Regions from separate parts of the Homo sapiens genome. Here regions 1 and 2 are each linked to region 3. Evidence: promoter capture Hi-C in 16 types of primary human blood cells and fetal thymus (Javierre and others, 2016). All regions are on one chromosome and are shown on one strand. The core of a region is centred on a gene start or on the middle of the fragment in contact, and the rest is flanking DNA. Distances in the headings are between cores, read along the strand shown.

Region 1 (4,487 bases), core at 688-3,187, 110 kb after region 3:
GGGCGTAGTGGCACGCGTCTGTAATCCCAGCTACTCGGAAGGCTGAGGCAGGAGAATCGCTTGAACCTGGGAGGCAGAGGTTGCAGTGAGCCAATATCGCACCACTGCACTCCAGCCTGGGCAACAAAATGAGACTCTGTCTCAAAAATAATAATAATAATAAAATAATGATGATGGCAGTGATGCTGATATTTATTAAGCTTTTGCTATGTAACGGGATCTGTGCTAAGCACTCTATTACATTTCTTTATTTAATGTTTACTACAATCCTGAGAATTAGATGCTGCTACCATCCCCATTTTACAGGTAAGGAAACTAAAGCTTAGAGAAGTAAGATGCCTAATGTAGTTACTGATAGAGCTAGACTTAGAATTCAAATCTATCTGGCTTAAATAACTACATCCATATAAAATATCTATAGAAATACATTTTATATGTCTAAAAACATTGTTAAATAATAATAGCCTAACACCTAAAACTTGAATGAGATCACATATGAATGACAGAGGAGCGATTTCATTATCGCTCCTTATGAGCTGTATGTGGTTTTCCAGGGCTTGTTGCTGGTATGTCCCAAATATGTCAATAATTATACAAGCCTCTAATTTGCTTTAGCTTTAAATCACAGGCCCTACAATTTATGTAGAAGCAGTTGATTGAAACAGACATAAAATTCTCAGTTTCCTTAAAGAAAAAAGAATAATCTATCCTCATAAAGCCACTGGCTCATAGTTCTTTAAGGGAGGTAGCAGCACCTATTTAACATTCTTTGGCTCAAGAAATTAGTGAAACTCATAGCATTTGTTCTACACAAGTTTTACATGTTAGCAATACTTTTATTTTCAGTTTTCATGATTTATTTCATGCTTGCCACTTTTCTACCTAATATTCACTCTTTACCTTACTCATTTATTGAAAGTGCTTATATAACATTTACTGTATACCAGATACAGTTCTAAACACTTTAAAAATATTAACTCAATTAATACTTAGCAACCCTATTATTATCTTATCTCCCTTTACAGGGGAGGCAAGTGAAATGAATCACCTAAAATCATATAACTAATGAGTGGCAGAGCTGAGATTCTCAAAAGGTAGTCTAGCTCCAGACTTAGGTTACGTTTCTAGCAGAACCCCAATGTGCCCAACTAAAGAATTTAATTTCTTAGGTTTTCACACAGCTGGTGGTGGCCATGTGCCACTTTTCTGACCACTGAGATACACTTGGAAGTGTATTGGCTGGGGCTTTGGAAAGGTTTGTGTGTTTTTTTGTTCTTGTTGTTTTTTTAATAAAGAGACAACTGCTGACACACACCTTCTGCTTACTTCATTTCCCTATTCTTTTTGTCTTGAATGTGGATGCAATGCATGGAGCAGCAGCAGCCATCTTGCAGTCATGAAGATGAATATCACATGCTAAGGATGGCTGGATGGGAAAACAGAGGGAGCCAGGTAGCTTGGTGACACCCACGAGCCACAATACCCATCTCCAGAGTACCCACCTCCCAACTACTCATCACATAAAGAGGGAAAAAACAACCTATTTGTTTAAGCTACATTAATGGGGTTTCCTGTTACTCAAAGTCAAAACTACTCTAGTTGATATAATGCATTAATTATAAAACCTATTGTTTCACCTCCTCTTGGATTTTCAGCAGCTGCATTAATCCATGGTTCTTAGGCAGTTTTCACATTAGAAAATCATAGTTTTAAGGATGATTTCTTAAACATTAAAAGATGATATCTGCATTTACAGGGCAGGAATATGTATTAAATGAGGAAAAGTATTTAAGCAAAAGGACACTCTATTGATAAAAATAAACTGTTCAAAAGCTGATATGAAACCAGAAAACTATCAAAGACAATTTCAACAGAGACCCAGAATTATCTGGGTCAATAAAAATAATTGGCCTATTCTTCTATAATTGTTGGTGCTAAAATGACCAAATAAATTAGTTCACTTCAGTAACCTAAACTCAAGCATTCCTATGTGCCTTGCTCTCTTTCTTGCCTCTGAATCTTATACATGAGTATATGCTTTAAATGGACAATAGCATATTATAGATCCTGAGAAATCCTGTGTTAAGTAATCCTTGAGATTTTGCTTAACCAAGTATTTCTCGTAGTTCTTTGAGCACAGAATCCTGTTTTTCCCCCAAACATTACATCCTATGCATAGTGTTCTATAAAATGCATTTAGGAGGGTGTGGTGGCTCACGCCTGTAATCCCAGCACTTTGGGAGGCTGAGGCAGGTGGATTACTTGAGATCGGGAGTTTGAGATCAGCCTGGCTAAGATAGTGAAATCCCCTCTCTATTAAAAATACAAAATTAGCTGGGCGTGGTGGCGCATGCCTGTAATCCCAGCTACTCAGGAGGCTGAGGCAGGAGAATTGCTTGAACTTGGGAGGCGGAGGTTGCAATGAGCCGGAATCACGCCACTGCACTCCAGCCTGGGTGACAGAGTGAGACTCCGCCTCAAAAAAAAAAAAAAAAAAATGCATTTAGGACATAAACACTAACATAGACTGCAGGAATAAGGACATATAAGATAAAGCGATAATTTCTAGTCTTCTGTCATTTTAGTTATTGCAAAATAGGAAGTCTGTCATGAAGCATTAGCAAACTTTCTAAAGCAAGTGGGAAACTATCACTTCCCAACTTCGAATCCTTATTGATGGATGGGCTTTTCATCCATGGGAATTCACATTTCTTTTGATGGCTCCGGTTTTGAGATGATGCTGTGGTTTTTAGTGAGTGCATGTGTTTGTTGAAGGTGGCTTAGTGGCAGTGAAGAGGGCAATATTTCAATAGATAAAGTATTCTGATCTTCTTTTCATCTATGGAGAAGCCAGGATGAAAAATCAATGCTAAAATGGATTATCCTCCATCTAAACACAGGGCGAATGGGATACAATGTCTGTTAGGGGAGAGTGAATATTGGCAGATTTCTTTACTTCCCCATTTTCCTTTGTATTTCTTTTCTGGAATTTCCCATCACTATATTTCTATTTTTGACTTTAAAAAGTTAGTAGCTGTTGGCCGGGCGCAGTGGCTCACACCCGTAATCCCAACACTTTGGGAGGCTGAAGCAGGTGGATCACGAGGTCAGGAGATCGAGACCATCCTGGCTAACATGGTAAAACCCCATCTCTACTAAAAATACAAAAAATTAGCCGGGCGTGGTGGTGGGCGCCTGTAGTCCCAGCTACTTGGGAGACTGAGGCAGGAGAATAGCGTGAACCCGGGAGGCTGAAGTTGCAGTGAGCCGAGATCGCGCCACTGCACTCCAGCTTGGGATACAGAGCGAGACTCCATCTCAAAAAAAAAAAAAAAAAAAAAAGCTACTAGCAGTTAAATTCTCAAACTAAAGCATTCTATCACTATAAAGACTAAACATTTTTAAAGATTGTTTTGCCTGAAAAGTAACAATGTGAACTACTCCTGTGCTTCCCAAAGCTGGTCTGATGATATAGGCCAGTCTAGAAAGTTTACTTTGATCCATAATGAAATGAGAAAAACAATGACCATGTAAAGTTTTTCATGAAGCTTAATATATTCCATTTGAAAGAGTGCTTTTTGAGATTATGTTCTTCCTACAAATTTGGCATTAATATACTTTTTTGTATTAACATACTCCTTTTTTAAATAAAATGATGAGTGAAAATAGTAGCTGTGTTTTTAAGAAATACCCACTGGGGCTCACGCCCAGGAGCTGGGCGAATCACCTGAGGTCGGGAGTTCGAGACCAGACCCGTCTCTGCTAAAAATACAAAAAAATTAGCCAAGCGTGGTGGCGGGTGCCTGTAATCCCAGCTACTCTGGAAGCTGAGACAAGAAAATTGCTCGAACCCAGGAAGCAGAGGTTGCAGTGAGCCGAGATCGCGCCATTGCACTCCAGCCTGGGTGACAGAGCAAGACTCCATCTCAAACAAAAAAACAAACAAACCCCACTGGCAAAATTAATATTTGGAAGTTTTATGTCCCTCCAACTTTGTTTGTTGTTTGTTTTGTTTTTTATTCAAAAGTTTAGAAACCTCTTCTTAAGCCCAAGGCAGTCATGTGTCTAGTTTGCTGTGTTCCCTGTGACTTGCAGAGTGCCTAGCAATACTAAGCAACCAATAGAGTTGGTCAGCAAACTTTTCTATAACAAACTTTTAGGCTTTGTAGGCCATACAGTCTTGGTTGCACCTACTCAACTCTGCTGTTGAGGCAGAAAACCAGCCAAAAACAGTGCATAAAAGAATGAGTGTGGTAACTATATTCCAACAAAATTTATAGACACTGAAATTTGGATTTCATATAATTTTTATGTCACAAAATAGTCTTTTTTTCCCACCATTTTAAAATGTGATAACCATTCTTAGTTCATGGACCATACAAAAACAGATGGTAGGCTGGAATTGGCCTGTAGGCTGTAGTTTGCCCACCATAGGGCCAAATGAAAGAAAAGAGTGACTAAGTACAGAGTAAGACCAGAAATCCAGA
Region 2 (4,486 bases), core at 946-3,445, 83 kb after region 3:
CCATCCAAAAATAGGTCACCAGTTCAAAAAGTCTTCACACAATATACTTGGAGTATTATGTAGCCACCAAAAACCATCTTAGAGAGTAGTTAATGATACATAGGGATGATCATGAACTGTTGAAAAGACTATAAAACCAAAATGACAATCTCTAATCAGTACTATAGGCATAATTTGCATTTTATTTTATCCATCTGTAATTTCTAAATTTTCTCTAATGAACATGTATTGTCTATATAATCATGTTATCTAAGAAAAAATACAGGTTTTTGGATTGCTTTTTTTCCTTTTAATGACTAACCTATGTAGACAGAAAGTCAGGAGAAGGCAGAAGGGTCAGCCTGCTCCTTTGGTGTTGCTGGCTTTGTCAGTGGCTTTGTCAGCTGTGGGCTTGGCTGTCCAAGGGAGGGAGATGTAAGCCATCCATCTTATCCACGTCTCATTGTTTATGTCCAAAATACATTCTCCCTGGAGATTCTAGATCGAGCACCTGCAAAGACTCAGATCTCATACCCAGTTTCCTGACCTCCCCAAATAGGTTTCTAGGTCCCTAATAGGCATTAAAAATACGTAATTATTTCTGGAGCTGTTCAACTAACCCAAATAACATGCTCTCATTCCATGTCCCCAAATTTCCCTTCTTGAAATATAAATTATTGACCTACTTTGTTAAAGACCATTTTAATGGCACTCTCCCACCCCAATGATAAAAATGAGACACTTGACACTGTCATCAGGTCCCATTAGAGAGGTAGAAAATAAGCCACTAAATGTTACCCATCAGAACGGCTAAGCAGTGAGCCAGAAGTTCTGTGCCCACCCTGGTTCTGAGCACATCCTCTCACTCTGAAATGTAACACAGGAAGTATAACAGGAAAGGGAGCCCTAGACAGTGCTGTTCACCTAGATGAGACCACTCACAGTCCGACTAAGAGTTCTCTAGAACCAGAATGTCTTAGTCACCTCAAAGCTGAGAGTCATTTTAGCTATAATTATAGAAATCCAAGCCGGACGCAGTGGCTCATGCCTGTAATCTCAGCACTTTGGGAGGCCAAGGCGGGCAGATCACGAGGTCAGGAGTTCAAGACCAGCCTGGCCAACATGGTGAAACCCCGTCTCTACTAAAAATACAAAAATTAGCCGGCTGTGGTAGCATGTGCCTATAATCCCAGCTACTCGGGAGGCTGAGGCAGGAGAATTGCTTCAGCCCGGGAGGCGGAGGTTGCAGTGAGCCAAGATCATGCCACTGCATAGAGCAAGACTCCATCTCAAAAAAAAAAAAAAAAAAAAAAAAATTCTAGAACTCCAGAAATCTGTTTCACGTCATTTCCATTTACCAAAGGCTTTGTTTTCTCCATAACTGAGATATCAGGGATGAATCCCAGCTACTCAGGAGGCTAAGGTGGGAAGATCATTTGAGGCCAGGAATTTGAGACCAGCCTGAGCAACACAGCAAGATCCTATCTCTAAAAACACTTTTTTAAACTTAGCTGAGCATGGTAGCATGCTCCTCTAGTCCCAGCTACTCAGGAAAATGAGGTGGGAGGAACACTTGAGTCCAGGAGTCCGAGGCTGCAGTGAGCTATGATCACACCACTGCATTCCAGCCTGGGTGATAAAGGAAGACCCCAACTCTTAAAGAAATTAACTTTTTAAAAAATGTATTAGGGCCAAACACCATGGCTTACACCTGTAATCCCAGCACTTTGGGAGGCCAAGGCAGGAGGATCACTTGAGGCCAGGAGTTCTAGACCAGCTGGGCAACACACTGAGACCCCCATCGCTACAAAAAAAAAAAAAAATGTTTTTTAATTAGCCAGGCATAGTGGCAAAAGCCAGTAGTTCTGGCTACTTGGGAGGCTGAGGTGGGAGGATTGCTTGTGCCCAGAAGTCTGAGGGTACAGTGAGCTATGACTGTACTACCACACTGGGTGACAAGACAAGACTCTGTCTATTTAAAAAAAAAAAAAAATACCAGGGATCAGTCACCTCCCTGGTCCTTTGGCAAGGCAAGAGAGAGATGGTAGAAGGCCAGACACAGTGAACAAATGATGGGGGTGTGTGGGGAAAGGTGAAGGGAAAGAAAAAGAAGGGAGGAAAGCAAATGAGAGAAAGAGAAAACATACAGATGGTAGAAAACACGCTTTCTACATTTGGACTGGAATTTCCTAGAACAATGCAAGGTTGCTAGTGAAGAAGAAGGGCTTTCCTGTTAAGACCACTGACACCCCCAAACATCACCATTTCAGCATATAAAAAGTTTACTTTTGTCAATAGTCCCTAAAATGGTTAAAGCTGAAACCCTGAAGTGCAACCAGCCAAATCAGGATAGTACTGGCAATTTTTTTCCTCTGTAGAAATGAAGGAATGCATCTACCTACTGGATTTGGGGTACCCATTCTCAAGCAGAAATAACACGCTCTCGTTCCAATTACTCTCTCTAAAGCAAGATCAACACCAAGGGACAGACAAGACAAAAGAAGTGTGAAACCAGAGGCCTAAAGGCCCCCTCGGCAGTGAGTGTGCATTAGTCAGGTTGCACTAGTAAATCTGTCAGAGGACAAGAATGTGTGAAGAGCAAGAACAGTGCCAGGTCGGAACATCCTGGTGTTGGAACTGCAGCATTCTGAGGAGCTGCAAATTGTTTGGATGCACTGAAGGAAAAGGGTATGTGGCTTCACAAGATCAAGAGACGAAGCAGATAGGAGAGTGCCACACTTGGAGACATGAGTTAAAAATCCTAAGGAATCCCGGCACTTTGGGAGGCCGAGGTGGGCGGATCACGAGATCAGGAGATCGACACCATCCTGGCTAACACAGTGAAACCCTGTCTCTACTAAAAATACAAAAAATTAGCCGGGCATGGTGGTGGGCGCCTGTAGACCCAGCTACTTGGGAGGCTGAGGCAAGAGAATGGCATGAACTCAGGAGGGAGGCGGAGCTTGCAGTGAGCCGAGATCGCGCCACTGCACTCCAGCCTGGACAACAGAGCAAGACTCCATCTCAAAAAAAAAAAAAAAAAAAAATCCTAAGGAAGTGGTTGCCTAGGGATGAGAGGTAGGGATGGAAAGAATGGCAGATATTAGCTAAGGACTACAGGATTGCTTTGGGGGAATGATGAAAATATGCTAATATTAATCGTGAAGATGAATGCAAAATCCTGTGCATATACTAAAAGCCATTGAATTGTATGCTGCAAATGGGTAAATTGTGTCGTGTGAATTGTATCTCAAAAAAGCTGTTTTTAAAAAACATCGTCCATGGTCTCTGCCTACCATCGCCTACCCCCATGCTGCCCATTTGGGGAGCTCAGTAATATGGCTGATTGAGACGGCACATTAAGAGATATGAGTCATCCTTCTCCAGTTTGACATTTTACAAGTTTCTTGCTTAACCATCAAAAAACAAATTGTCTTTCTTAAAGAGACTCAGTTTAGGGGCAGTAAGGATTAGACTCCTTAGGAAAACAAGCAAAATTTAAGTTATCTTCAACTGGTGATCATCTTCATGTACAAATTACGTACGGTTTCAAGCACAAAATCCCAAGCAAGCCCCACTGGGCTGTGTCTTTTCCTTGCAGTATGGTATGAAGTTAAGCTGGCCAGGAGAGGTGGGGGAGATGAGAAGCAAGCCAAAGTTATATCCCAAAAGACACAGAGGCCAAAAGCTATCAGTTCCACTCCAATTTCCTATGCAATGGAGCAGAGCTTCCCTGCTGGGGAACCGATTACAAGCATGCTGGCTACGTAAGAGGAAACAGGCTTTCTTTCCAGAGAGAAACCCATCTTGCTGCTCTAAACAGAGCTGGCAGCATGGTAGTCTGCTGACCTTGCACACTGAGCTCTGGGCAGCTTCGGTCAGAAGGCCGGCAGATTGTGGCAAGTCCTGGCCAGCAGACACAGATGCAGCAGGAGCATCTGGATGCCGAAGCCTACGGATGCTGAGGCACTCGCCTCCAGTGCCTGCCCTGGCCTCCACAATGACATATTGTCCACAGCAGGGGTGGTGTGGCTGATGATCTGCTGGGTAAGTCGCCCACGGTAAAGTCTGTGTCAAACATTTCAGTGCACTAGTCAGATACAAATGCAAGAAAACCTTATTTTTGGAAGAGCAACCCACAGATTTTCTTAAGAAGCAAATAGCAGAGTGAAAGCAGCACTAATTTCCTGGTGGTGACACCCTGGGATCACACCAGCAGCAGCTGTGGTCTGCCCAGTCATCCAGCCCTGCTTTAAAAGGGTGAGAACCAGCTGAGATCAGAACAGAGACAGCAGTATTTGCCAGAAATGAGTTGCCCAGGGGCACCTCCAGGTAGAAGGGGGAGATCAGCTCTCTCTGGGTTTAAGGCATCTCAGCTCCAGAGCCATCACCCAGTCTCTCTCCTCCTCTCCCCAGATCCTGAGTTCCCCTTGCTGTGCAACAGCTCAACCAGCTCATTATGCTTCCTGAATGTTTTTAAAGAAAAAAAAAATGTGAAACATAATTA
Region 3 (4,919 bases), core at 471-2,970:
AGCTGGGCTATTCTTTCCTCATATATGAATCCTCCAGTAAGAGGAACCAGGAAAGGTAAGCATGAATAACTGTTTGGAGCTCGGAGAAGTTAAAGGACTGACCTAAGAGTGCAAGGCCACTAAGGAGAGGACCTGTGACTTAAGTCCTGTGAACTGAGATCCTTGTAGTATGTGGGAACACCATACCACTTCACCCCATTAAGGTAAACCCTCTATGTTACTTGAGAGATTGAAAACAACACTAAAAAGAGAACTCTCTACCTAAAAACCATTGCTTCTTGCCAATTTCAATCCAGTAAGATTGGTGGTATCTTATGTAGATTTTCACCTTGGATATGGAGCAGCCCAAAGATTTATTTCAAGAGCTTTCCCTCTGATGCACACAGGAATCTAACACACACATTCCAATAAGAGGAGAGAGAAAAGAGAAGAGGCTGGCACTGGTGCTGGGTGCATGCCAAGCGTCGTGGCACCCTCCTCATATAACCCTGCTGTTTCATGTGCAGGCAGTGCAAGACACAGCAAGGAGCCAAGCAGAGTCAATAATATTTACTTTGCAGAAACATCTGTTGCTAGAAAAGCAGAATGCTGGCCAGAGTGGAGGGAAGTCATAACTGCCGGCATCTGGGGAGGCCAAGTATCTGCTTTCCAGAGTAGGTAGGGCTGTGCTTCTCTGAGTGAGGGGACCAGATGGCTAAGAAATATGGAAGCAGCTAGAAGTTTGGGCCTTGAGAGACTGCTCCCAGAGCCACCTGCTCACTCAGGGACTAGAGGAAGTGCCCTTCTTTTCTTGGAGATGCCAGCAGATATTAATCTGCACCGGATTTAAGAGAATTTAACCCAAATAGATCCAACTTTCACTAACACAGAAGGTTTACCATAATTTTTTAAAAATTAGAATCTACCTTAATTTTATACAAGTTGTACCAGTAATACCACAAGTCAAGCCATTTCCTTTTTCTCCTTGGGTAAAACTTAACATACATGTGCACACACAAACATGGACTCAGGTAACCTTACTACTGTATTTTCAGTGCATCTATTGCCTTTGTGACCTCCAAAGTTACCAAAATTGTGTATTAACTACCCTTGAAATGTTTTGCTGCTCAGTCACATCTTTCCCTTTGGACTTAGAAAGTGATTACAGTTCCGGGAGGCCAAGGCGGGTGGATCATGAGGTCAGGAGTTCGAGACCAGTCTGGCCAACATAGTGAAACCTCATCTCTACTAAAAATACAAAAAAAAATAAAATAAAATAGCCGGGTGTACTGGTGTGCACCTGTAATCCCAGCTACTCAGGGAGGCTGAGGCAGGAGAATCGCGTGAACCCGGGAGGCTGAGGCTGCAGTGAGCCGAGGTTGCACCATTGCACTCCAGCCTAGGCGACAGTGTGAGACGCTGTCTCAAAAAAAAAAAAAAAAGAAAAAAGAAAAAGAAAAAGAAAAGAAAAGAAAGTGATTACAGCTCAGAAAGGCCATCATTGAGGTTAGAACTTGCAACAGGATTGGCCTCATGGCTGCCTAAAGTTCAAGAATACCAAAGTCCCCGGGCCTTGTTAATCTCTTCCTTTCCTGGACGCCAGTTACTCTCTGTGCCTCATCACCTTGTATTTGGAATAATTCTGGAACTAGTCATGAATGGCTTCATGTCACAATGCACAAAGAGTGCCTCGGACAGGGCTGGACACAGTGTCCCTCCAAACCTGTTGTACGATGTGAGCGGGCAAGGAAACACAAGCTGGCTTACAGGTGGAATACCTGAGAGTCTCCAGAGAGGACCCATGACAGACAGCTGAGACATGGATGGACACGAGCCCCAGAGAGACTTCAGGTTTAGCCCACACCCCCATTCCTAGGTCAAACTCAACACACTCAAAACAAAACTCTCTCTACTCAAACACCCTCTGCCACCCTCTCCCCAGAGAGCCAGCCGAGGGCCTCTTCCTGCATCCCCAGTGTAACGAAGGGCACCACCATTCACCCTGCCGCACAAGTCACCAGTACATGTCATCCTCTCACACAGCAGGCTCCCTCATGTGCCATGTCCATTCCCAAGTCTCCTAAGCACATCTCAATTCTGCCCACTCCTTCCCATCACTATCAGCAACCCCTAAACAAAACACCTCCATTTGCCCAGATAACTGCAACTGCTCCTCTCTGGCCTCCCCACATCCACTTTTGTCCGTCAAATCAGTTCTCCACCCAGTTGTGTCAATACCAGCAGTGAGCCCTGTGATGGCTTCCCAGAGCTCTGGAGGTGAAGACGAAAGTCCCTCCCAAGGCCTGAGAGGCCCTGCAGGGTCTGGCCTCCCCACACCCCTCTCTGGGCTCCAGCTGCTCCAGCCTCTGCCAGTTCCCGGGGCATGCCCAACTCCTACCTGCCACCACATGCCACCTCTGCCTGCAGCCCTTGGCCCAAAAGTTCTTTCCTCCAGGAAGCCTTCCCTGACTTCTCTAATCAGGCCAAACCCAACCCTATTTCTCACTCTCTGAGTACTATACTATAGATCTTTTCTTCAGAGCAATTTTATATTTGTTCAGGTAATTCTTCTCTTCAAGTAATGCCTCCCCAACTAGTACATTCTATAAGGATGAGGATCATATCCCTTCATGCTCACCACTCTATCCCCAAAGCCCAACACTCTACTGCTTGACTGAGAGCAGGTATTGCAGAAAGAACAAAGAGAGAGGAAGTTGGGCACTCCATAAGTCCATTAGCCTTCATCAGAGGTGAACCTCCCAACTCAATGTTTGACATGTGAAAAAAAAAGCAGGTAAGTTAGGACAAACTCTCCAACTTATGTAAGTCTGGCTAGAGCCTGATATATATGTGGGAATGTGCTTCCTATTAGCATGTGACCACCTCCCTTCATGTTGTCCATTGAGGAAGAGTCCCACAGAGCTGGAGGGAGAGCTACCACCAGCAGGAGCATAAAATAAAACCTCACCTATACCAAGGAAGCTGGAGAAATGAGCTACATACAACCCAACTGCTGGCCACAACCAACTGTCCTCTCTTAGCCCCAGCACAAGCCCCAGGTTGCAGTTAAAATGGTTTAAGGAAGAGTCCCCAGAGATCGCTCTTTTCTTTCTCCCCGTATCTGGGAAAACTGAGAACATATCCAATCAGAAACTGTGCTTGGAGAGAGGCATTTCCAACGACTCCCCATTTCCCCAAGTCTGTATGTAGCAGTTTAAACCTAGTTCGATGTGCTTCATTATAAGAAAAGCAAGTTACAGTCCCTTGTAAATACCATTCTGCAGCCCAGACTCCTGGCATTGTACTAGCAAAAACAAACAAAACACACACACACACACACACACACACACACACACACACACCCTGTGCAAATCTTAGAATGAAACAAAATTCTCCATAGCATTTTTCTCGTTTCCGTGACACACGGTCTTACCTGTGGCCACTAGGTGGCAATCAACTATATCAGAGAACACCTTGACCAAGCAGCTAATTTAAACAACAGCTAAGACTCAAGGAGAAATGACAGGGCCAGCCTTAAAGGCAGTGCTGAGAACAGATCCTGTCCCACTGAGGAACAAATAACCACCTAGAAATGTCCAGTGGACACTCAGCAACTGAGAGAGGGGCCCTGGCTTCCACATTGGAAGAAGTGCTCTAACACATTCGGAGGGCCTGTGCTCTCATACAGCAAGTCAAGCCTGAGACATGGAGTGGGAGGGGTATAGGGATGAAGTCACCACCACAGTGTCTCTCACATTCTTTCAGATCTGGCTGGAGCAGATTCAGAAAACCTCTTATCTCCCCCAGGCGGATGATGTGCCCACCGACCACATCAGCCACGGTACGTTACATAACATGCATTCTGATCATACATCTGCGTGCTTTTCCTGAGGCCATTTCCCTAAAACAGCATTTCCTAAATGAGGCCATCACCAGCACTGATTCTGGAAAATTTGTTTTTCCAACCAGAGCACTAAGGCTAATGAAATTTTCAGAGTTGATTTTTAAAATGAAATCAAGTAGAATAAAGACGTGCTCCTCTTTCCAAAATGAGGTTTCTAATTCTATTTAGATGAAATACCCCTTAAAAATAATTTGGGCTACCCAAACTCACCTTAATCTACATCCAAATAACTATGAATATATTATATACATTAACTTACTGAATACTGTACCTACCAAGTACTTTAAATCCCTCCATCCTCACAACCATTCTGTTGAGTAGATATTATTACCTCCATTTTGCAGATGGGAAACTGAGGCTCAGAGAGGTTAAATAACGTGCCCAAGATCATGCAGGGAATGAGTGGTAATGTAAGAAACTTGGTCTCTCTGACTCCAAAACTCTTAACTACTACACTATATTGCCTCATTTACTCAAATATTTGAGAATCTGGTATCAATGTATTCAAAGAAATGAAAAGATGGTATGTATACATTCCGTGCCTTAAGGGGAATACAATTTTTAGAAGGGCCTAATCTGTGTGTGCAAAACTACAAAATTAAGGTAGACTGTGCTAGGGCAATCAGAGAGTAGACAAAAATGGCTACAGAAATGCAAGTGGGATATTATTCCGGCTAGGGCCATTGGAGGGGGCTTCCAAAAAAAAAAAAAGAAAAAAGAAAAAGAACAGGGAGTAGCGTTTGAGCTGAACCTTAAAGTTCAGTCCTATTTGGATATGTAGAAAAGGGAAGCGGAAGCAGTCATGGGAAGATGCTATAGAAGTGGAAACATGGAGCAAGGAGATGCGAAATGCAGAACCTACCCAGAAAAAGCAGCAAGTTTAACTAGATGGACAGGAGGTCAGAGTGGGAAGACCGGTTAGAATCAAACCATGGAAGGACCTGTATGCCAAGCTAAGGAATTTGAACTTACTCCCTTAAAGAAATGGGAACTGGATTGTTATACAGAGGAGCAACAAGATCAACTTAAACAACAA

The links. The method cuts DNA at HindIII sites, captures the fragments that hold promoters and counts their contacts. A CHiCAGO score of 5 or more calls a contact.
Region 1: a contact is called between a fragment that was not itself captured here and the fragment with the promoter of ARHGAP26-AS1 in region 3, in 13 of 17 cell types (neutrophils, endothelial precursors, total CD8 T cells and 10 more). The highest score is 9.5, in neutrophils.
Region 2: a contact is called between a fragment that was not itself captured here and the fragment with the promoter of ARHGAP26-AS1 in region 3, in 1 of 17 cell types (neutrophils). The highest score is 5.4, in neutrophils.

Annotation. Positions count from the first base shown.
Region 1 is chr5:142,760,801-142,765,287 of GRCh38, reverse strand. It overlaps LINC01844 (long intergenic non-protein coding RNA 1844), which reads right to left. Exons shown (of 4, transcript NR_110558.1): 4 at 4,295-4,487. Among named protein-coding and RNA genes, the nearest start is that of ARHGAP26, 7.3 kb to the left of the region's middle. The HindIII fragment of the contact is 3,227 bases long and covers 324-3,550 here.
Region 2 is chr5:142,783,464-142,787,949 of GRCh38, reverse strand. The region is part of intron 1 of ARHGAP26 (Rho GTPase activating protein 26); the gene reads right to left. Among named protein-coding and RNA genes, the nearest start is that of ARHGAP26, 15 kb to the right of the region's middle. The HindIII fragment of the contact is 9,850 bases long and covers 1-4,486 here.
Region 3 is chr5:142,865,711-142,870,629 of GRCh38, reverse strand. ARHGAP26-AS1 (ARHGAP26 antisense RNA 1) reads left to right here and starts at 1,720. Exons shown (of 6, transcript NR_046680.1): 1 at 1,720-1,830; 2 at 2,541-2,773; 3 at 3,745-3,820. All of the region lies in intron 1 of ARHGAP26 (Rho GTPase activating protein 26), which reads right to left. RefSeq lists a silencer at 3,312-3,606. The HindIII fragment of the contact is 5,262 bases long and covers 1-4,919 here.